7 separate regions of the Homo sapiens genome follow, and all the other regions are linked to region 1. The links are contacts of gene promoters, found by promoter capture Hi-C in blood cells and fetal thymus (Javierre and others, 2016). All regions are on one chromosome and are shown on one strand. Each heading gives the region's core, a stretch centred on a gene start or on the middle of the fragment in contact. The rest is flanking DNA. Distances are from core to core; before and after follow the strand shown.

What was found. Contacts are between HindIII fragments. The CHiCAGO score rates a contact against its expected background, and 5 or more counts as called.
Region 2: a contact is called between a fragment that was not itself captured here and the fragment with the promoter of MAP9 in region 1, in 2 of 17 cell types (fetal thymus and total B cells). The highest score is 12.6, in fetal thymus.
Region 3: a contact is called between a fragment that was not itself captured here and the fragment with the promoter of MAP9 in region 1, in 1 of 17 cell types (fetal thymus). The highest score is 7.0, in fetal thymus.
Region 4: a contact is called between a fragment that was not itself captured here and the fragment with the promoter of MAP9 in region 1, in 3 of 17 cell types (fetal thymus, M1 macrophages and M0 macrophages). The highest score is 10.5, in fetal thymus.
Region 5: a fragment that was not itself captured here is called in contact with the fragment with the promoter of MAP9 in region 1 in 2 of 17 cell types (total B cells and fetal thymus); the score reaches 6.4 in total B cells.
Region 6: a contact is called between a fragment that was not itself captured here and the fragment with the promoter of MAP9 in region 1, in 1 of 17 cell types (fetal thymus). The highest score is 7.7, in fetal thymus.
Region 7: a fragment that was not itself captured here is called in contact with the fragment with the promoter of MAP9 in region 1 in 1 of 17 cell types (endothelial precursors); the score reaches 6.6 in endothelial precursors.

Annotation. Positions count from the first base shown.
Region 1 is chr4:155,375,170-155,378,665 of GRCh38, forward strand. It overlaps MAP9 (microtubule associated protein 9), which reads right to left and starts at 1,796. Exons shown (of 14, transcript NM_001039580.2): 1 at 1,602-1,796; 2 at 607-745. The coding sequence starts at 681. RefSeq lists an enhancer at 1,249-1,678. The HindIII fragment of the contact is 1,286 bases long and covers 1,287-2,572 here.
Region 2 is chr4:155,765,999-155,769,432 of GRCh38, forward strand. The region is part of intron 2 of GUCY1B1 (guanylate cyclase 1 soluble subunit beta 1); the gene reads left to right. Among named protein-coding and RNA genes, the nearest start is that of GUCY1B1, 8.7 kb to the left of the region's middle. The HindIII fragment of the contact is 6,244 bases long and covers 1-3,434 here.
Region 3 is chr4:155,810,004-155,813,552 of GRCh38, forward strand. No RefSeq gene overlaps it. Among named protein-coding and RNA genes, the nearest start is that of GUCY1B1, 53 kb to the left of the region's middle. The HindIII fragment of the contact is 6,377 bases long and covers 1-3,549 here.
Region 4 is chr4:155,793,101-155,796,557 of GRCh38, forward strand. GUCY1B1 (guanylate cyclase 1 soluble subunit beta 1) reads left to right here. Exons shown (of 14, transcript NM_000857.5): 6 at 756-986; 7 at 2,241-2,357; 8 at 3,277-3,410. Among named protein-coding and RNA genes, the nearest start is that of GUCY1B1, 36 kb to the left of the region's middle. The HindIII fragment of the contact is 2,117 bases long and covers 905-3,021 here.
Region 5 is chr4:155,745,775-155,749,078 of GRCh38, forward strand. All of the region lies in intron 3 of LOC105377506 (a long non-coding RNA gene), which reads right to left. Among named protein-coding and RNA genes, the nearest start is that of GUCY1B1, 12 kb to the right of the region's middle. The HindIII fragment of the contact is 3,568 bases long and covers 1-3,082 here.
Region 6 is chr4:155,672,158-155,675,292 of GRCh38, forward strand. The region is part of intron 2 of GUCY1A1 (guanylate cyclase 1 soluble subunit alpha 1); the gene reads left to right. Among named protein-coding and RNA genes, the nearest start is that of GUCY1A1, 6.9 kb to the left of the region's middle. The HindIII fragment of the contact is 1,407 bases long and covers 1,006-2,412 here.
Region 7 is chr4:154,974,210-154,977,670 of GRCh38, forward strand. No RefSeq gene overlaps it. Among named protein-coding and RNA genes, the nearest start is that of RBM46, 190 kb to the left of the region's middle. The HindIII fragment of the contact is 763 bases long and covers 1,601-2,363 here.

The DNA of each region.
Region 1 (3,496 bases), core at 546-3,045:
TGCCATGTACCCACTTTACGCCTCATACTCAATGCAGAGCATCACAGACAAGAGCCCTTCCTCATGGAGCTCGCAGTTTAACTAGAGGAGACACACATTATGGAACAAATTAATTGCAGGTTATAATTAGAGCTGGAGGGTAACAAATAAGAAGGGGCTCAATTTAGATTATAATTTATTAAAAACTGGTATTTTGAAAGAAATTGGTATTTTTAAGAGCTTTTGTCTCGGCATATTTCAGAAATGGATGCAATCAATATTGCAAACTTAGAGGCTGAGTTCAAAATTGCAGTGACTCAACAGAAAAAAAAACTTAAACATTATGTTACAACAGAAAAAAAAGTTTTTATATAAAAATGGCAATTTAAGGTTGCGATTCAACTTTTAACTTAGTAGGAAACTAGTATTGAGGCTACTTTGGTAGTCTTAAAACCATATAGGGGAGTTTGTAATACTGGATGGAGCCCAAACATGATCATGTGCAAAACCTCAAAAGTAATATAAGATTTACCCCTGCTTTATATAGGACTGTTCTAGAATCACCAATTTCAACCCATCTAATACAGTGTTTACACTGTGAAATGATTCCAAATAAAAATACTTTACCTGGAAAGTAGTTCTTTTGGTAACTTTTGGACTCTTTGTATATGCCAAAGTGGTGCTAAAAACTTCATCAGACATAGTGTATTTTTTCTCGTTACCTTTATAAAATAGCTAATTATTAGAATTCAACTTCTGATAGTAGCTGAAATATACAAAACAAATCAGACTTCGCATGCTTCAGAATTTATTTTATTACATTTGATTCTACTCTCCCCACAAAGGTCAAAGAAAAGCATCTGATATGAACATTGGGCTACATCTTCACTTAAAAAGGTTCTTGTAAAGAAATAGCAAATTCTCATAACAAGCTTGTTTAAAAAAATTCAAATGGAAGTTATCCTAAAATAGTTTTGCAACTACTTAAAAAGTCTGCAAATAAATGATTACAAGTTAATACGACAAAATGCTGCCAATTAAAATAGAACACCTTATTTTTCACCTCTCTTCTAAAGTATAACATTGCCTTCAAAATAAGTCACGTCTTATTTAAAAGGCCATCAAAAGGATCGTCGGCGTAAAAATTATGAGCACCACCACCAAAAAAAAAATGTATCTATATATTTGCATACAGCGCTATTCAAAGAAAAAGATCGTAATGCTAACCCGCAAACAGCCAGCGAGATGTATTGCAAGCCAATTTTTCCTCTCACAAAAGTGTTAAAGAGAGCCAGACAAAACGACGAAGCTTTCGCGATGAGCCGCATTAAAATCGCGGTTTCCCGTACTCGGAGCAGAGGCCTGGCAGGGCCGCCCATAGCGTTGTGCGCCCCGGGTTCCGTTCCCTACCAGGCCAGGTGACGTCCGGGTGCTCGCCGCTCCTCACCGCGCCGTATGCTGAGCACCAGCGAACGCCAGGCCCGTGCACGTCCAAGCGCGGTCTCTGTCCGGATCCCCCATGGCCCCCAGGTCCCGCTTTCTGTTCCCGGCCCCGGACGCCCGCGGCCAGTTCTCCGCGACCCTGAGAATCAAGAGCCAAGCATCGGGTAGGAGCTGCTCACCTTGGTCTGGGCCTGGCGGCGCCCGCAGAGCCGGTCCTGGACCGAGCGAGGAGGAGGGGCTAATAACAGAGGCGGAGGGCGGTTGCTAGGAAACAGCGTCTTCGGGAGGAAGTGACTTCCCCACCGCCGGGTCTCTCGGGTACCCAACACCGCTCTTCGGCCCAACGTGTCGCTGGGGCAACCACCCAGACGAAGGAAGTGACATCACCTTCCTGGGTCTTTGGAGAGGGGCTCATTATTGGTCGCTTGTGTGCATGTGCTGTTGCCTAGGAGACAGGACCCGCCCAACTCCCACCCAGATAGCCTTACTCTTGCCAATAGAGTAAGGGTCCTTATCTGCACGTGTTGCAAATAAAGCACATTCGTCGTTTTGCCACAGTTAGGACGTGAAGTTCTCTGAATCGAAGTACGGTGTCAGTGGATGGGACAGAATAGTACGGTAGTGAGTTTGCAGAACCCTGTTTCCGACTGCAGGTTTGAATCCTGGTACCCCTTTCCTACACACGTGATTGTCCCAAGTTAAGGTCTTTATGACTCAGTTTCTTCTTCTGGGGGAAAACAAAAGTGTACTAATAATAGACACCTGAAAGGTTGCTGTAAAATTGAATGAAATAATACAAGTGGAACACTTGGAAGAGTGCCTGGAATTGTATTCGATATTAGATATGCTCTTCATGCAACTAAGCCGCAAAGGGCCTGGAGAGACCTCAGCTCTTGTGGACACAACTGAAAGCCCATTTGACATCTTACTTGAATGTAAAACTCCCCCTCTTTGTATACTTAGTGAGTAATCTTATTCCAATCAAACCAAACAAAATGATCCACTAGGCTAAAAGAGCATGTGCTACTAAAGTAAACAAAATCAACATCATTTAATTCGCATAGGAAATTCTTAAAGCAAATAAAAACCAAAAACGTTTATTGAAAGTCTTTAAAATAATATGAATTTTTACTATTTTTAATTTTTAAAAAGCTTAATCCTAGTTGAATTATCTGAATGAATTCATTGACTAGTAATTAAACTCATACCTGGTATTTTTTCCACATCTCTAAAATATGTTAATATTTCACTAATTCAATTTTGTATAAACAAATCACATTGAGATAGAAATTTAATAAATCAATGTATTGAAAAACTAAATGTGCATAACAAGAAATAAGAAATTTAGTAAAATACAATGCTGTATTAATCAGGGTTCTCTAGATGGACAGAACTAATAGTATATATATATTATATTATATATATTATATAATATATTATATATATAATATATATTATATAATATATTATATATATATGTCCACTCATCTGTATCCATTTATGAAGCTGAAAATGTACACCACCTCTACACACACATACCCAGAATAGAAAATGCTCCCTATTTTCTATTAACTCATGGCACTACTGTTGAACCCTTCCAGGTTCACCTCATGCTCCTGGAACCTCCTTTCCACTGTAAAACATTCTCTCACTTTTTCCTCTATAATCGCATTCTTATCTTAGCTAAGCAAAACTATTTTCTGAATAAACTATCTCCCTGAGGGCTTTTCAAATAGGGACTGCTGTAGAAGGAAGATTTCTAAGTTCTCCTAGGTCCTCACATACTCAGTGACTGCTCTCCTATTACTCCAAACCCTTCCTCCTCACAAGCCAATATTCTATGTTCTATTTCTCAGTTTCTGTCATCAATAGATATATAGGCCCTTCTCCCACATTCACTGAATATCTACAGCCAACCTATCCAATACCTGAGATCACACCAAGGTATGGTGTGGCCATGTTCCATTCAATAGAATTCTTTGCTCAATACTCCAAGACTTTCACTTGTCCATACCCCTAATTGTGGGGCTCCGTACTGGAAGTCTTAAACTGTAATACTCCACTCCAAAAGGCC
Region 2 (3,434 bases), core at 613-3,112, 390 kb after region 1:
TGATTAATGTCTATCCTCCATGACAATAGCCTCCATAACTCTTTCTAGAGTGCTCTCTCTCTCCCTCTCTCTATGTATTCAATAAAATATCAGGCTCTCTTTCTGTAATAAAAATATGGATGTTTATATGTGAATGAAGTATCTTTCACCTTTTTCATTTCCAAAGAATAGAGCACACACATATTTTTATCAAAGATTCTTCTCTGCAACCAGAATTTATGTCAGCATGGTGACATATTCAACTACTATTTAAATATAAGCTGTTTTCAAATAGACATTTCTTTTTCTCCAAGATTTATTGAGATATAATTGACAAATAAAAGTTATATATATTTAAGGTGCACAACTTCATGTTTTGATGTACATATACATTGTGAAATAATCACTGTAATCAAGCCAATTGCCATATTCATCACCTCACATAGGCACCCTCTTTTTTTGTAGTGAGAACACTTAAGACCTCCCCTCTTAACAAATTTCAAGTATTCATTATAGTATTGTTAACTGTAATTGTTCATTGTAATTGTTAATAGTGACATTGCTGTGCCAAATAAACATTTCTTATATCAGCAAAGGCAGAAGATAGAGCAATATAGCAATACATAATAGCAATTCCTTTTGGAAGTGTCAGAGTTCTTTTATGTTTTCTCATGTCATGTGGATGTATTGGAAGGACTAAGAACTCTATTGTTAGAATGACAATTTCATATGTCAAAAGACAATTACTAGATTGGATTCAGGACATGATTGAATCCTTTAGCAAGTTTCTAAAAGGCAGGGATGTGTGGTGCTGTTTAAAGTCAGTGTCATAGACTGTAACTCAGTGTTTAGAATACTGAAATTAAATTTGAAATCCAGCTGAGCTCTCACCATGTCATGCTATTTCGAATGTAATATGTCACGTATATTAAACACATACCATATGGTTCTGCAGTCACAGTCCTAGATGCTTTATACTCATTATCTCAGTTAATCCTCATCACCACCACAGAAAATAGATTCCTTCATTATCCTCATTTTGCAAATGAGAGAATAGAGGCGTAAAAGAAAGCCTGCCTCAAACACTCAGCTATTAATTATTAGAGCTGGGATTTGAACACAGATAAAGTTGTAATTATCATGTTATGTGTTTTCCTCCAAAGAGAAAGACCTATAACCTTCTTCTTTCCAAAGACAACCAATTTAGCAAGGACATGTGCCATGTTTATGTGTATTAGTACTGCCTGCTGCTTTTTCTTTTTTCTTGGAATGTTCAAGCATGCGTACAGGTGATTTTTGACAACAATATTTTTAAAGGCGAATTGACATGAAGCATATACACAAGTGTCTAAGTAAATTCATTTGTCTGTTAAAGCTGCTGAAAATGGCTCAGCAGCTCAAATGAAGATTTGTAAGTTTTGTGGATATGTTTTCAAAATTGGAGAAATTACCATTAAGGGTCTCTTGTGACTCAAAATTGGAGAAATTACCATTAAGGGTCTCTTCCTGACAATTGCATGTCAGGAAGAAACATGCAATTATGTATCAAGACTGTTGTTGTTTCCCCTAAAACTAAGGTATGGGTGTCACTCAGGAGAGTATTTATTGTTACTGTTTACAGTGATTGGATGAGTGAGTGAACACATTGACATGAAAGGACTGACCTTTACTAACTAAAAGGGGGTTCAGGCAGGAAGTCGTTACTGGATTTAAAGGGCCTGTCTCTCCACTTGGCAGCTCCCTCAAGCCAGAGTCTCTCCTTTGGGGTTCAGGCTTACTGAGAATCATTAGATTAGGCCATTGAAAACTTAGAGGCTATTCATGCTCCACAGCCACTTAGAAAAAAGCAATATAAAGTTTTACTTTTTTAGATGTTATATATAGTTACTATCCACAGTTTATAGTGGGAGATTTTAGTTTTAATAATGGTTGGGGACAATGCAACATTATGGTACCAATTCAGCTCACTACAATGGACCATTCTAGGATTTATTATCAAAACGACACCTACGTACTGTTTTTTAATACAGCATGTGTTCTGATAATGTTGTTTATGGGATCAATAGTATCTTGGAGCTGTCATTGGTCAGTTTGATTGTTTGATCCTGATTGACCTTTTCTGCCCAAGAGCAGACCTTGTGTTGAGATTATGTTTTCAACATGCCTGTGTTCAGGCTCTCCCATTTCAAAATACTCCATGGAAAACTTCTTTAACTGAAATATAGCAGTCTTGTCATATTCTTAACTTACTCTAAAAATGTACAGTAGCAGGAGCTCAGGGTCAGAATATGAATTCAGTTTTTCTGTGTTCACATATTGTAGTTAAGGAATATCTCCTTGTATGTGAAGTTATAAGAAATGTTACCTGGATATTTTGGACAAATTGTATACCTAGTTTTAAAAAATAAATAATAAAAAATATTCTTTAGTTTGAAAGCAAATGATGGACTTTTGTTAGTAATGTTTGATTACTTGTTTGTTTTTTTTTTTTTTTTTTGTAGGGAGCTTGGAAATGTGTGGGGAAATTGATTTCATTAATTCATTCACTAATTTTTAAACATGTATACCTTTATTAAGCACATGTGCACCTTTATTAAGCACATGTGCAATTCCAGGCACCTGGGTTAGGCACCAGTAATTACATTAAAGAAAAAAATCCCAACTTACCAAACACCACCACTATAAAAATACCAACTACCTCTTTGTGAAAAGGTAATTAGTATAAATAAAGGATCTGCTTAAATTCCAACAAATAAGAGTAAGTAGGAAGTTGATTGCTACTGGGAAACTATTTCACTTATACGTATTCAACTTCTAAACAGTTACTGTGGCTACAGATACAAAGAATGTGATTATTTCTGATTTTGTTGCCAGGTGAGAATTCGATCTTTATTTTTAAAGCCCTTAGGGGCAACAGAGCTTGTTTGTTTCTTGGCTATTTTAGTTTGTAAATTCTATCAGCAAATCTGCATACTAAGTGCACCTTAATTATTTGATTCTGACTAAAAATGACTAAGATTTTGTTGTCATTCTTCCCTTCTCTTCTTCCACTTGCCATTTCCTCTTTCTCCTTTTTCCCTTCTTCCTTCATCTTCTCCAACTACTATAACTTACCAGTTAGAGGAAGTATCAGGCATTAAGTGTGCAAGAAGTACTACCCTGAGATTTTTGCATAGGTTAATTCTGCTAACCAACACAATGACCGGAGGTAACTGCTGCTGTTAGCCTGTTTTACAGATGAGGAAATGAAACACCAAGAGTTGAATCTGCCCAAACTGCACATGGGATTGGCTTAGTTGTTTATTTTCCATACTGTGTGAGGAAAGACTTTGACTTATGACATAGATGAAATCAAGGGAGTTTCTCTTTATCTAGGTTTACTTGTTAGCCAATGAAAGTGCTTTTAAACTTGAACCTCTCTAAATATTTATTATTGTCTGCTGACCTCTTTCATT
Region 3 (3,549 bases), core at 1,013-3,512, 440 kb after region 1:
AAAAAGAACTGAAAGGAGACATTCTCTCACAGGACAGAGTTCATCTTGTCTCCTAGCTGTCACTTCCTGTGTGCAACCTTGAATTCACTCCTTCCACTCTTTCTCAAGTTCAAAGGAATATAATAAAAATAATTATTTCTACTCATTAAGACCATTTGTATAGCATGAAATCTATCCACACGTATCTTGCTCTGAAATGTCACCAAAATATTTCCTGCTAATTCTGCAGGAAGGTAAAAACATTTGCTAAAACAAGCAATTTGTAATAGGAACAATAGTTTTGTACAATATTTTTATGAGTAAACTAACTTGCTTGTAGCTCATGTTAAAAGTTATTAAATAGAAATAGGATACTATTTACTTATAAGGATAAAATTGGAAAAAAATTTATTTTACATTAATAGAAAATGCTTTTGTGATTCTTCCTTGCTACTTATACCGTATCAAAGAGAAGAAATATAGTGTGAGTTAACAAAACAAAATTTAACAAAAAACAAAGCACCGTACAGAGAATCAAGAACCTGAGTCCAATTCTGGTGAGGAAATCTTGTGGCCTTTACAAGTCACTTAACTTTACAACTCAGTTACCTCATCTGAAAAAAAGGAGCTGGTTAAGGTGATATCCAAACTAAATTATTGCTCCAAAATTCCATCATTTCGTTGGTAACAATTCCAGGGTTTTTGTATCAGAAGCATTCTAACCAAAGTGACTCCATCTTTACAGAGGCTGGGTAAAATGAGGCTGAGACCTGCTGGGCTGCGTTCCCAGGACGTTGGGCATTCTTAGTCACAGAATGTCTACAGTTAAGGGAATAGGTTAATAATGTTTACCAAACAGACCCAGGACTTAACAGACCCAGGAAATGTCCAGGTGTCCCAATATCTTAGGAATAAATGTATTCTTAATTTAAGAATACGTTTTGCTTTAAAGATAATAATACAGATTATTGTAGAACAGTAGTTAAGCAAATACTCAGCTGATAAAACACCATGCAGTAAAGAAGCAGGCCGAAACCCACCAAAACCAAGATGGCAGTGAAAGCCACCTCTGGTCATCTTCACTGCTCATTATATCCCAATTATAATAAATTAGCAGTTTAAAAGATGCTCCTACTAGCGCCATGGCAGTTTACAGATGCCATGGCAACATCAGAAGTTACTCTATCTGGTCTGAAAGGGGGAGTAACTCTCAGTCCTGGGAATTCTCCACTCCTTTCCTGGAAAACTCATGAATATTCCACCCCTCGTTTAGCATTTAATCAAGAAATAATCATAAGTTTACTCAGTCCAGCAGCCATGCCACTGCTCTATGGGGTAGCCATTCTTTTACTCCTTTACTTTCCTAATAAAGTTGTTTTCACTGTACTCTGTGGATTCACCTCAGATTCTTTCTTGGATGAGATCCAAGAACTCTCTCTTGTGGTCTGGATCAGTACCCTTTTCCAGTAACTCTTGTGCTAGGATTTTGGCCTGAAACTTTTGGGAATACAATCTAAAGTTTTGACAATCTAGTAGTGTTGAATAGATCAACCGAAAGACTGAAAGCTAACTTCCAAGAAATAAACAAATCTGAGGTAAACACTTGGTGAGGACTTTTGACTCCAAGCTAAAATCAAAATGACTAAGGTCCTGATTAGTGTATATGAGTATTAATGTTATGTATGTCTACTAAAAATGTGCCCTATAATATTTAATTATGTTAGCTAAATTTAAGTGTTTAATAAACAGTCACATTCTTGATGACCTGAAAACAAGGAGAGAATGTATGTCTCTATTTCAATTATATGTACTCACACAATTGCTGTGGTACAGTCTATCCCAAATAGGGCTTAAATATAGGGGCCAGTCATGGTGGCTCACGCCTGTAAACCAGCACTTTGGGAGGCCAAGGCAGGTGAATCACTTGAGGTCGGGAGTTTGAGACCAGCCTAGTCAACATGGTGAAAATGTCTCTACAGAAAATACAAAAATTAGCCGGATGTTGTGATGGGCACCTGTAATCCCAGATACTCGGGAGGCTGAGGCAGCACAATCACTTGAGCCTGGGAGGCGGAGGTTGCAGTGGGCTGAGATCACTACTGCACTCCAGCCTGGGCGTCAGAGCAAGAATCTGTCTCAAAAAAAATTACAGGTAAAAAATATCAGTGAGTATTACATATAGGTTGGGGTTTTTAAAATGTTATTCTTATGAAATATATTTCCCAATTATGTAAAGTAGTGACCACAGTTGCCTACCAAACAGTTTTAGATCATTAGGGGGAAAGGAGTCACATAAAATTAAAGTATTAACTTAGAAAACACTTTTAAACTGTTGTAAATACTGTCCCTTTTGTGGTTTTCTGCATCACATGAATAAATGTCAATATATTAATAATTTTTATATACCCATGAATATAATACCATCATATTGTTCTGGACAACAACAGTACCTAAATCTGACACTGTGACTACATACAGTTTTAGATGTACTAGTACAAATAACGTAATCAAAGATATTTTGTTTATTTTTGTGTAAAAATCATTACAGTCTAAGGCAGGCATGGGTGAAATCAGCGACTGAGTCCTCTGCTCCCGGGCAACTGGGGCTCTGAAGAGGGGGGGTCAGGGGAGTCCCCTGAGAAGTTTGTGTCCTGGAATCCAAGACAAGGTGAGGGCAGGGCCTGAAGAAAATACAAGTCTCAGGAAATATGTAGATTTCAAATTGATCTGACAAAAAACCCTAGTGGTCTGTCCAAAGAAGCCAGTAGCCAGAAGAAGCATTACAGGCAGGAAGCATTATGAAGTTAAGTGTGTCTGGTGTTGGAAGCCTTTTGCACAGTGCTAGTTTGTGTGTGCAGTGGTGATTTTGGCACCTGTTTAATAATTGTATATCCTCAATCGCAAGTATTGGACAGGATATTGAATAATGGGAGGTTGCAATTTCTTAATGTGTTAGTATAACTATTTTTTCCTCTAAAGCACAGTGTTTTTAAGTCTGTTTAGAAAACTTCCAGGCGCGGTGGCTCATGCCTGTAATCCCAGCACTTTGGGAGGCCGAGGTGGGCGGATCACGAGATCAAGAGTTTGATACCAGCCTGACCAACATGTTGAAACCCCGTCTCTACTAAAAATACAAAAATTAGCTGAGCGTGGTGTCACGTGCCTGTAATCCAAGCTACTCAGGAGGCTGAGGCAGGATAATGGCTTGAACCCAGGAGGAGGAGATTGCAGTGAGCTGGGATAGCGCTACTGCACTCCAGCTTGGGCGACAGAGCGAAACTCCATCTCAAAAAAAAAAAAAGAACACTGCAAGGGTAATGTCTAACAGCATGGTTTAATAGTAATACAATGTGAGGCCCAAATATAAGTCACATATGACATGGATTTTTAAATTTAAAAATTTCTAGTAGCCACACTTCAAAAGGTAGAAACCAGTGAAATTGACTTTAATAATATGTTTTATTTAACTCAGTATAAGCAAAATATGATCATTTCAACATGTAATACATTTAAAATCATTAATTAAATATTTAAAATCAGTGTGTATTTTAAAATCAGTGTGTATTTATA
Region 4 (3,457 bases), core at 713-3,212, 420 kb after region 1:
AGTCTCGTTCTGTCGCCCAGGCTGGAATGCAATGGCATGATCTCGTCTCACTACAACCTCTGCCTCCCCAGGTTCAAGCAATTCTACTGCCTCAGCTTCCCGAGTAGCTGGGATTATAGGCACCCACCACTGCGCCTGGCTAATTTTTGTATTTTTAGTAGAGATGGGGTTTTGCCATGTTGGCCAGGCTGGTTTCAAACTCCTGACCTCAGGTGACCTGTCCGCCCCACCCTCCCAAAGTGCTAGGATTACAGGCGTGAGCCACTGCACCTGGCCTGGTATTGTAACTTTATGTATTTGATAGTTGATGGTTAAAAATGACATTGCATTTATTTTTGAATATGAATCTCTATCATTTTATTTCCCATTGTTTTAAAATAGTATTGTAATCTTATTTGATAGTGCTAGCTTGCTTTTAGCTGGCTTTCAGGTTGTTCACTATACAAGTGTGCTTGGCTAAGAAGGCAGAGCCCACAAGTGCTTTTTTTTTCTAATTCTACCAAAGAGACCATATAGGATACTGGGGAACTGATACCAGATTTGTAATTTTACAATGATTATTCAATCTTCAAATTTTATAGATCAAAGTCCAGAAATATTTTCCTATTTTAGACATATGGAGTATTTGCATATATGTTTTGAATTTTTGTAATTAATCTTCTAAATGCAGTATTCATAACTCATTTTTTATATTTAGGTATTTTTATTAAACTGAAATGAAGACAATTCATGCCATTTCCCCCTTTGATATCCAGGTTATTCAGCAAAGAAATGAAGAATGTGATCATACTCAATTTTTAATTGAAGAAAAAGAGTCAAAAGAAGAGGATTTTTATGAAGATCTTGACAGATTTGAAGAAAATGGTACCCAGGAATCACGCATCAGCCCATATACATTCTGCAAAGCTTTTCCTTTTCATATAATATTTGACCGGGACCTAGTGGTCACTCAGTGTGGCAATGCTATATACAGAGTTCTCCCCCAGGTAAAATGACAGCATACTTCCTTGGGGCCTGAGACAAAAGCCCATAGAAATACTATTGTTACAGGCAGCCATCCATTCATTTAACCCTCTGACTATGTATTAGGTAATATGCAGTTTATTGTAAGTTACACAAATTGTTTAATTGTGAACTAAGTGTATTTGAGCATACCACAACTTTCCCTAGGACAACTATTTTTTTATAATAATCACATACAGAAACAGTAGGAATGTTATGTAAGAATAGTATACTTGTTACAGTGAAAAAAAATGGGTAACTTTTTAGTAACAGTCACCTTTCACATGTTTATTTATTCACTGAATAAATATTCATTGGATATCTACCATCTGTAAATAGCTTTAAAAATCAACTATTGATGGTGTTAAGGGAAAAGGGGGGATTTTAAAAAGAACTAAAACACAAAATGATAGAGATGATGATGGATTCAGTAGAAAAAGCATCAAAGGAAGCAGTTGGGATGATGATGAGAAACTGCTGTTGACTTCTATGACAGATCCATTGGTAAAATCCTTTATGCTTACTCTTTTTTTCTTAAATACTAACTTTTGGAGTTGTATATGGCATACGTTTAGAGATACTTTTTGCTTGTAATTAAAGAGACTTGAAAATTCAGGATTAGCCCAGTTGGATCAGGTGAAATGGAAGCAGAGTAGTGTGCTGTCCTGGCTCTGGTATTGACTCTACCTGTCCCTTACTGTATGACCTTGAACTTATTACTTCACTTCTCTCAGCCTGTTTCTCTTTGTTCTGGCATGAGAATAGAAAGCATATGAAAAATACTTAGTTCATTGTAAGCAATCAATCAGTGTTACCTATTGTTTTCACTTTTAGCCCTCTAGATAAATATTAAGAGAGGGTTTGCTCATGTTTTTGGTATTTTAATTTCATTTCAAGCCATACACATTTAACATAACACTGTACATTTTAAAAGATAAATTTTCATTTTTTCTCCTTCTGAAAATGCATTGTAAATTTATGCTAGCTTACATTTGAATATTAGTCATCTGAATCCATATCAGATTTCATGTTCTTGTAACTATTTAATGTCCATTTAATCACTGAGTTGTATAGATTGAGATTTGAGTTGATAGTTCAGCTAAGTTTCCCTTGAATTATAATAATTATAATTTTCTAGTTTTAAATATAACTGAGCTGATTTAATCAAGCGATTAATATCAAAGTATAAAAACTATTTTAACTGATGTGATACTCTTTGCTCTCTATCTATATTTTAGCTCCAGCCTGGGAATTGCAGCCTTCTGTCTGTCTTCTCGCTGGTTCGTCCTCATATTGATATTAGTTTCCATGGGATCCTTTCTCACATCAATACTGTTTTTGTATTGAGAAGCAAGGTAATCAAGATATTATTTCATTAAATGTGAGAAAGGTATGTCACAAATTAGAAGTATTCAGGGGGGAAAATTATCACATTCTCTGAGAAAGTATAGAGAGATAAAACCCAGACCTCAAAGGAAGATCTATTTAAAAGGCAATAACATTGATTTTTGGTTTGCCTGAGGAGCAGTGGAACTCTATCAACTGATTAAAATTAACAGAGGTAAATTTTAGAGACTGTCTTTCTGAGACGGCCTTGTTTCACATCAAAAAACCAACATCTTTTACTCCCTGTACAGCTACAGTGCCTTATTTTAGAAATCAGAACTAAAAAGGATTTTTTTTTTTGGAACTTCACTCAAAACCACTTATTTATTCTTTCTTAAATTGTCTATTGTTCTTAGTAGCGTTTTTGTGGGTGAATAAAAGTGATGAAATATTCACACAGTTGATAATTTAGATAGTGCTGGGATCTCACGGTTTCTGTTCTTGGGATAGATACAGCAAAAGTCATTTTCCTAGAGTACCCATTGAATCCTTTCTGTATTTGGAACTGACTGTTTGCAGCTGCTCTATGAATACAGGGTGGGAGAATGGGGAGGCTTGGCTTATTCTTTGAGAGTCTGGTAATGTATGTTGGAACCATACCGGAAAATCAGGGGGATAAAAAAGATTCACAAAAGCTTGAAATAATTATGTGAAGAGTAGCACAGTTACTGTCCTGAATTCAGACGGGACAGTCACTTTTCTGCAGTGTTGCAAGGCAGCCACTAGGCTTATTACAGGCAGAACTCTGACAGAAGGCCCTCTCCTGTTCTAATGATGCACTTATTCTGCTTTGTGGTTTGGTGGGAAATGAGATATGCGTGTCCTTGTTGCTGAATTCTTAGGTAGGGAGAAAGGCATTCATTAATGGTTGTATCTTGCCTTTTCAAGGAAGGATTGTTGGATGTGGAGAAATTAGAATGTGAGGATGAACTGACTGGGACTGAGATCAGCTGCTTACGTCTCAAGGGTCAAATGATCTACTTACCTGAAGCAGATAGCATACTTTTTCTATGTTCACCAAGGTAATCATTTTTAGATTAATTATAGTGGCTATCAGTACCTATCTTTA
Region 5 (3,304 bases), core at 49-2,548, 370 kb after region 1:
GAACAGATTTAGGCCCAGCTCTCCTGATCAGATTAATCAGAGTGCTGATGGACTGATGTATCCAAGGGAAAATTCTCCAGAAGACAAGATGGTGTAGAAACTAGGGGAGAATACTGTTGGGAGGTGGTCTCTCATATTTATGCATGTCTTATGAGCAGAGGTTCTGAGTGTCTTTGTTCTGCACTAGCTTTCCTGGGGTGTTTGTACAGCAAATCGTCTTGGAAGATAGAGATAGTATTTCTTTCTGGAGCAAGGGGCAGGCACGCTTACTGTTCAGTATAAAAGATTCATGTTCCCTAAGTTCAGGGTTCCTCTCTTGTGATGTAGCCTACTGCATGGACAGGCGTTACTTGGACCTCTTTTCATCACCCTGTGGACTTGGGACTCAAGAAACTGGCTACTCTGGCTATTGCTGTTGCTGTGAGTAATACATTCTTTACTCACTGACCCAGAAATCTTACGGTTTTTGCCAGCATTACAAAATGCAGCAGGCTAACTTATTAACTTCCAAGTAGGATCAGGTTATCATGCTAACATTTTTAAATCATATGATTTCACAAAGAAATCGAGATCACTCATTGTATGCAGCATCACTTGTCCCACAATGTCTCTACAATGAACCGTTGTCCCTGAGTGGGAGCTGCCTCATTTGGGTGGGGTAAATATTCATGATCTACTGCATTCCCCAACGCTCACTTTTACCTCAAATCCACCCAACCTGCCTCATCACTTTATATTACCTGCTGAGACCCATGGTCTTTGCATGCCTAGTTAGTACAGCAAACCTGCCCTATGAAAATTAATGATAAAACTAAGTGTGAATGTTCACTGTGTAAAGTCTGTCCTGTAGAGAATCCTATGTTCTGTAATAGGGTTCTATTAAATTACTTGCCTTTGTTCATATAAATGCGATTTGATTCATGGTCATAAGAACTGTATGTGGCTGTCAGGAATACAGTTTCTATAAAGTGAAGTTCACTTTAATACCGTTCTCCCACAATGCTGATATGCGATAGCTGTATGTATTTTGTGGATGACACAGTAGTGGTGGGTTTGCATCTGAGCTGGCCCAGTGACACTGACATTAATAGCCATGGGTTGAGTCCCCAGAGAGTCTTTCAGTCAGCAGTTCAGTAATTGTGACTCCTTCTGAGCCCTCTTTCTGATGATTTTGAGAGCAGGTAGAGTCTCAGCTCATACCTTTGCCTCCTGTTCACAGAAAGAGTAACACTCTTGAATAGAACCTGGTTTCTTCACACAAGGGCAAGGCACAGCCCCTCACCTGTTTGGATGGATAGAGTGTGGGATAAATAATTTACTCAGCTTCTTGCCCTAAGACGGATGTTCATGGAAGCAGAGTTATCATCACAGTAAGCAATCTTCAGCCTGCAAGGTCCTGAGCTGGTACTGTGTCTTTGAAAGTAGCCTAATCTTTCAATAAACAAACTCAAAATTTGAGTGACTCACAGGAGCAGTTCCTTTCTCACATATTATCTAAGGATGAGGGTGATGAGGGCTGAAGCTCCACCAGCCACTCATGACCTGGACCAACAGATCACTCTCATCTTCAATGTCACCTTGAGTATATATATCTACTGGGCAGTTGGAGAAGGAATCTTGGGGAGTATGTGTGGCAAATTTTTAAGTTCAGTCCTGGAGGACACACGTATTCCTTCTGTTCACATTCTCTTTCCTTGAACAAGTGACACAGCCAACCTCACTGCAAGAAAAGCTAAAAGAAGATTGGAATGATTTGCATTATCAGTACAATTCCTGCTACAAGTAATTTACTGAGAGCTAACTCAGTGTCAGGCAATGTTCTACACTTCATGGTACACATTATTTGAGAGTTTCACATAATCATGAGACTGAAAGTTTTTGTCTAGACTAGGCCCATCTTGAAGCCTGGGAGCAATGTAATCCTGAGTTTAAGTGACAGTAAAGGAAGAATCAATGTGGCAAGCCATCTGAGCCTGCATGGGGAGAGTCTGAAGTCCCCTCTTCGTGCTCCCAAATCAAGAAAACCCTGATAGTGCTCCATGGATTGTGTCCATCAATTACTGAGCCTGGTGAATCAGAGCTAGAATCCTTTAGCTACAGGTAAAGATGAAATACACCTGAGTTGAGAGCAATACATGCTCTACCTATTATAAACCTGAGTGGTTCCAGGTGGGAGAGGTAGAGCAACCCCCCCCCCCCCCCCCCGCCCACAAAAGGACATACCAAAATAAAGAGGACTTTTATCACCTGGCAAAGGCGGCAGGGAAATATCTCTTACTGACAGGTAAAAAAAAAAAAATGTGGATAGAGGGTGCCACTTCTCTTTGGCTGCAGTGTGGGATGAGAAGAGACTTCAGAGTTCCCGCCTATCTCCCATCTTTAGTTTAAGGGAGAATAAACCGAGTTCTGGACTATCAGTTCTTGCAATCTGGTTACCTCCCACCCTCCATTTCCATACCAATGGTAGCTTCTTCCCAGGAGGAGTTTTGCACTAAGAGCAGGAGTTTTGCACTAAGAGCAGGAGTTTGGCCATGCAGTTGCTAAAAGAAGCTCATTACTGTCACAGCTGGAAATAATCTGTGTGTAATTTCCTTATATTTGATTCCTGCTTAGGAATCTCAGGGAGTTCCCTGCACATTGGGTGCCATTTACTTTTCAACTTTGAGATCAGGTAAGAGAAAATCAGAGTACTATGAATTAGACTTCACCTGGAAACCAGACAGTGGACCTCTAAATGTGGCCCACCTGCTTGAGAGTCATTGGAGGGAGGGAGCACTTGTTAAAGTGCAGACTCCCGGAAACAACAACTTATTTATCAATTAAAACAGCAGAGTTGGGTTCCAGAGATCTGCATTTTAAAGAAATGCCCCAAGAGATATTTATCAGCATTTTCAATCCCAGGAGACTATTGCAGTACTTCCCTAAGGGTTGGGGTAACTCTATTAGTATTTGCCCACCGGATGGCAAGCTCTACTAATAGCTAACATTTCCATAACTTTGTGGATTGTTAGATAAGCATGTGAATTCATAATTTCCTTACTTCCTGGACCATGGACATATTTAGGGAGGCAGAGAAACACCAAGCTTCCTAGAACCCCTTCTATTTTGTTTGTTCCTGTCTCCTAGGCTCAATAGGTTAGAGCGACGAGTATGCATGATTCAGGACACTGAGGTAAGAACAGAAGAGATAGATATCCCCTAAAATGCCAGACCATACACCACAGGGTTACATCTGGGACCAAGGAGAAAGGATCTTTATTAAGAATCTGTGCCAGGAAATAGTAGCTAAGCCAGAAGATGAATA
Region 6 (3,135 bases), core at 459-2,958, 300 kb after region 1:
ATTTAATCATTACCTTTAGTTAGCCTGTTGTTCCAGAAAGTCAAGGTCATCTTGGATTCTGAGTCCTTGATACAGAATAGCCATTTTCACCAATTTAGAGGAATTAACAGATTTGATCAGGATATAATTAACATCTTCATCCAAGTAACTATCTACAATGCTGAACTGGAACTACCTTTGGCATATTCCTAGACACCGTCCTTTACGTTAGACTCCTGCTTTACATTAGTCCATAAATTATTCCTCTTTATAAGGCTGTTCAACCAGTTATATAGTCAAATAACTCTCTTTGAAGTTGACATTCCTTTGTGTGACTTAAGAGAGTATACTGAGACAGACTTGGTCAAATTCCTCCCTGAAATGAGTCTCCACTTTCTGCAGAATAGATGTCAAGTAACTGCTATTAAAAACAAAAGGAGATAACTAGGTTAGTTGACAAGGATAGGTTCCTGTGACCTCTCCTTATCTTGTAGATAACAGCACTTCACATTTTGAATGCTTGCATGCCATGTTTTTAATCATCTCTTTGGAATAGTACCTGCAATTAATGTCCAGCTCTCTAAATTATAGCTGATGGAATCCACCTTCCCAATTTTGAAAATTGAGGCAATGGTTGGACTCTGTCAACACTTCTCTTCATCACAATATTTTTAAAGATGACTTTAACAATTCCTTTATTTTATCCACACATGCTTTCAATATTTTGTAGTGTAATTTCTCCAAATTAATGGATTTAAACTCATTTAGAATATTTGCTATCATTCTACATGCTGGACCTTTGTTATTTTTAGTTTTGTTCTACTTTTATAAGTATGGATATTGTTTTCTTAAGGAATGGATATGAAACAAAACAAGAGCAGAGTAGTTCTGCCTGTTTGTTCATGTACTGTGATTTGAATATCTTTATCCAGTGTGCTCTTCCTATATCTAATAAAAATGCCATTATCACCACTTTATCTGGCAATCATAGCAAGAATTAAAAGGACATTTTTTCTTTTTTTTATAAGCTTCAACTTATTTTATGTCTTATATTTTATAACACTCTTCTTAGAGACTCAGCCACTATTTTGTACTTCTCTCAATAAAGTTTATTATGGATTATGCTTGTCACTGAGGAAGATACAAAGCAAAGTTTATGACACACACTCCTTGACTTGAAGGAATTTAAAGTCTGCATGAACAAAACCAAGAAATAGTCTCAGAATTATACATGTCAGCACTTAACAATGAGCATAATATTTGTAGAATAGTTTTAATAAGTTTTAAAGAAGTTAGGAGAAGGAAGAGAGTTCGGTATGATGGAAATATTGAGTAAGGCTTTCCAGAGGAAATCTAAGACTTAGCTGAGGTTTTAAAACAAGATCAGGATGTTGGACATCACAGGACCTGTAGGATTTAAATGTGGCAAACAGTAGGAAGAGTATTCTAGACAGAGGAAAGGAAAGGATTCACTGCAGGGATCAGATGTGTGTGTGGGTGTGCATGTGTGTGTTTGATGTGTGTGTGTGTACCCTGTGTGTGGCGGAACGGGTAATGCTGAGCCTTCCCAGGCCATAGCTTTGAAGTATTTATTTGTGGAGAACACCACTTTTCCATTTCTAGCTTTTCGTTTCCCCTTGTTCAATCTTTGTGGGGCCCACACCTACACATCTTGTAGATCTCAAACTAAGCTCTGCTTCTTAAAACCTTTCCCTGAACTTCCAAGCCTAAATTGCATGCCTTATTATGTTTTCCTGTAACACATTGTGCTTCCTTTGTAGAATTATTATGATATGAATAATTACTTGCTGAATTTTTACTATTATACTGATACTTGTGGAGAGAGGTACCATTTCTGTTTAGTTCCCCATTTTATACACAGTCATCTAATACAAGTGCTCAATGGCTCATAAGCACTCAGTGAAAACGTGTGCTATGGCCGGGCGTGGTGGCTCACGCCTGTAATCCCAGCACTTTGGGAGGCCGAGGCGGGTAGATCACAAGGTCAGGAGTTCAAGACCAGCCTGGCCAAGACAGTGAAACTCCGTCTCTACTAAAAATACAAAAAATTAGCCGGGCATGGTGGTGGGTGCCTGTAATCCCAGCTATTCGGGAGGCTGACGCAGAGAATTGCTTGAACCCAGGAGGTGGAGTTTGCAGTGAGCCAAGATTGCGCCACTGCACTCCAGCCTGGGCGACAGAGCGAGACTCCATCTAAAAAAAAAAAAGAAAGAAAGAAAGAAACAAAGAAACAAAGAAAACATGTGCTATCATGAGCCTACTTGGAACAGTGAAGTTATGTGGAGAGTACTTGTAAAAAAAAAATGTTTAAAATAAAGAAGGGTTAGATTACAAGTCCAGCATCTTCGTTCTTTATATGCTTATTCTAACAGATTTTTTCTATTTTTAAAATTTATTTCTTTTTACATCTTAAGCTTTTTTATTAAAAATAAAGACAAAAACACACACCTTAGCATGGACCTACACAAGGTCAGGATCTTCAGTTTCACTGTCTTCCACTGCCACATTTCTCACTGGAAGATCTTTAGGGACAATAACAAGCATGGAACAGTCCTCGCCTATGAATACAATGCCTTCTTCTGGAATACCTTCTGATGAAACTGCCTGAGGCTGTTTTACGGTTAACTTATTTTTATAAGTAAAACTAGTACCCTCTAAAATAACAATAAAAGGCATAATATAGTAAATACATAAACCAATAAAATAGTACTTTATTATCACTATCGAGTTTTATATACCGTAGGTAATTGTATGTACTATGCTTTTTATATGACTGGCAGCACAGTAGGTTTGCCTGCACGAACATCTCCACGAGCATTTCAGTTATGCATTGTGCTATGACATTACAATGGCTATCAGTCACTAAGGAATGGGAATTTTTCAGCCCCATTATAAACATATGGGAACATGATTGTGTATGTGGTCCATAGCTGACAGAAACATTGTTATTTGGCACGTGACAGTATATGCACTGGAATTTTTAGCTGCTTATTTTTCTCCATTTGCAATATCACTTTGCAGCTTCAAATATGCTCATTATAAGCAGTTAAATGATATGTGGTTTTTATTACATTATTAAGTTAATAAAATAAGTGACAAGGAGTTTCAGTATTCCATAGTATAACATAAACTTTT
Region 7 (3,461 bases), core at 732-3,231, 400 kb before region 1:
GAAACTTAATCCCCAATGCAATAATATTAAAAAGAGATTAGGTGATTAGGTCATGAGGGCTCTACCCTCATGGATGAGATTAATGCCTTAAGAAAGGCTGGAATAAACTGGCTAGTCCCTTTGTGCCCTCTGTCCCTTCTGCCATGTGAGGACGCAGAACTTGTCCCGTCCTATAAACACAGCTACAAGGTGCCATCTTGGAAGTAGAGACTGAGACTTCACCAGACACCAATCCTGCTGGTGCTTTGGCCTTGGACCTTCCAGCTTCCAGAACTGTGAGAAAGTAATTTCTATTATTTTAAAATTACCCAGTTTCACATATTTTGTTATAGCAGCATGAATGAACTAAAATACCATCTCTTTTTTGAGATAATTGTACTTTTCGGAAAATAAAAAAAATTAAATATTTTTTGTCATCTTCTTCGTCTTTTCTCAAGTATATCTGCCTCACTGAGGACTACTCTGAATGTGCTCTCCTTCCTGGAACTTCTGGTTACTCTTACTTAGCTTTATTTTTCCTTCCCATTACTATAATTTCCTAATATATGTGATGAATTTATTACACTTATTGCTTCTTGTCTATCTGTGTGTGGAGAAGACAAGCTCTTCGAGGGAAGGAGTCTGTTTCATTCCATGACTCATCACTAGCACCTAGAACAGTGTCTTGTACTGAGTAAGGATTAATTAAGCATTGATTGAGTGAATGAACAGTAAGTATACATGCTCAGTATAGAAATTTGAAAAGTAAAATTTTATGGAAGGAAATAAAATCTCCTGTAATCTTAAGAGGTAACAGAATAACACTTCCATATATCCTGTTTCTTCGCCCATTCATCCTACTAACATGGTTAATAGAAGTTAGAAAACTACATGCTGAACCATCTTGGCCTTGCTGTTGCCCAGCCTCTTTAATTATCCTTCCTCAGGAGCCAGCTGTCTTGTGCCGTGATCTTCCTATCTCTCCTTATATTAGAATCAACTGTTTTTCTTCATTTTGGCCTCATAACACCCCTTCCAAACTGTTATCACACCATTGGTAGGATCTTTGTACCAATTTCAATTCGGACTCCGAGCATGGTGAATTATTAATTGGCTGGAAAAAATTGTGTGTATGCATGTGCTGTAATTGCTGATTTATTTACTCAAGAATAACTAAAAGTTGGGTTTATTACTTGCAATCAAGAGGTTTATTGACACTTTTGTAATTATCCTTTAGCCATTTCTCTGATTTTTCTCTTTGGATTCATAGAAAAAGAGATAACTACATGAAAGGAAATGAACCTGTTTTGAAACTTGATACATTTTACCGAACTCCTTTCCTATCAGGAAATAATACCAATAGCAATAATACTGGTATTATTACGAGCAGTTCATAATGCCGTCAGGAGTTTTTGACAGTTTCCTGTGTCAATCTCACTATACTGTTATTTTCAAAATTTGCCAAGTTGATAGGTAAAAAATATCTCATGATGATCTGAATTTGATCATTACTAATGAGATTAAATCTTTTCATCAGCATTAGCCTTGTGTATTTCTTTTTGAATTAATGCTCTTTGATCTTTTCTGTACTGGTAGGTTTATAGATATATTTAGGTATTAAAGCTTCTTATATACTAAGAATAGCAACTCTTGTATCTTATGTATGTTGCAACTGTTTGGTCTCAACTTGTTTGCCTTAAAATGTATGTATGGTTTCTGATACTGTCTTAGTTCAGGCTGCTATAGTATATTAGCATAGACAGAGTGGCTTAAACAATAAACATATTTCTCAGAGATCTGGAGGCTTGAAGTCCAAGGATAAAGAGCCAGTAAATCAGGTGTCTGGTGAGGGTCTGATTCCTGGTTTGCAGATGACCTTCTTCTTGCTGTAGTCTCATATGGAGGAGAGAAGAAAGAGAGAGAGAATTAGGGTGGGGTAGGGAGAGGGAGAAAGAGAAACAGAGAGAGAGAGAGAGAGATGCTCTGATGTCTCGTCTTACAAGGGCCCTAATTCCATCCTGAGGCTCCACCTTCATGACCTAATTAATTCCCAAAGGCCCCACCTCCTAACGGCATCACCTTATGGGTTAGGGTTTTGACATATAACTTCTTTTTGTTGGTAGGGGGAACCCAAACATGCAGTCTGTAACATATATTGTGTTTATGTTTAAATTTTCATGTTTAAATTTTGGGAAATTAAATTTATTAATCTTTTCCTTTGAGATTTTTCACAGAAAAATTACATATTTTGGCCTTTCCATGTAAGTTTCAAATGAAAAGAACTGGATTTGTGAGGAATTATTTTATTACTGGACAGAGCTGTGTTCTGTTTTGTCAATAAGAATGCTCGTCAGTATGTTATGTGCTACTGATTTCAAGGTAGAAGCTTCCTAAATACCAAACTGTATAATCTTTAATAAATTCCTATTAATATTTTCAAAACTTATATTGTGACTCTAGTAAATAGAAAGGCCATTTTTCCACTGTACCTGATTTTTTTTTTAATTTTTATTTTTTGAGACATAGTTTCGCTCTGTCGCCCAGGCTGGAGTGCAGTGGTGTGATCTCCACTCACTGCAGCTTCTGCCTCCCAAGTTCAAGCGATATTCTTGCCTCAGCCTCCCGAGTAGCTGGGATTACAGGCATGCACCACCATCCCCTGCTCATTTTTGTATTTTTAGTAGAGATGGAGTTTCACCATGTTGGCCAAACTGGTCTCGAACCCCTGACCTCAAGCGATCTGCCCACCTCATCCTCCCAAAGTGCTGGGATTACAAGTGTGAGCCACCACACCCGGTCCTGAATTGTTTAAAAATGCACATTTGATTATATCCATACCTGCCCCATTTAAGCTGTTCATGGATTTACCATCATGTTCAGGATAAAGCTCAAATTCCTACCTAGCATGTCAAATTCTTGATGATCTTGCACTTGCAGACCTCTCCAGGTCTTCTCTCCCAACATCCCTTCCTACTTCCACTTCATGCAGAACCACTTCTAATTACCTGAACACATTATTCTCCCTTTCTTTCTTTGGTTCCCTCTACCTGTAATATTTCCCCAGCCTAGCTAACTCCATCCTATGAGACACCTGCAATGCATTCTTTTCCAGACAAAAATTGGATACAGTAGTTCAGCCAGGTGTCCTATTTTATGCTAGGAATATAGTATCACTCTCTGAAACTCAGAGTTGCTGTATCAATCAAACCCGCTGGCTAATTATTTCCAGGGATGACAGCCAAATGTCAGCACTATTTATCTCAGTGTACTAAAATAGAAACTTGTCTTTAGTGGACGTGAGTGTCTTTAGTGAGAAATACTGAATGCCTTCACAATCTGGATCAATTCATTCAACTCCCGGGCATGGGCGTTAGAGGCAGCCGGCTCATCTTTGATAGAAAGGCAGGATCATGTAAAGCCCCGTAGGAGGCTGGAGTCCCACTGACGTTCTTTAAGTTTTGGGCAGTGAAATAGAAAAAGTT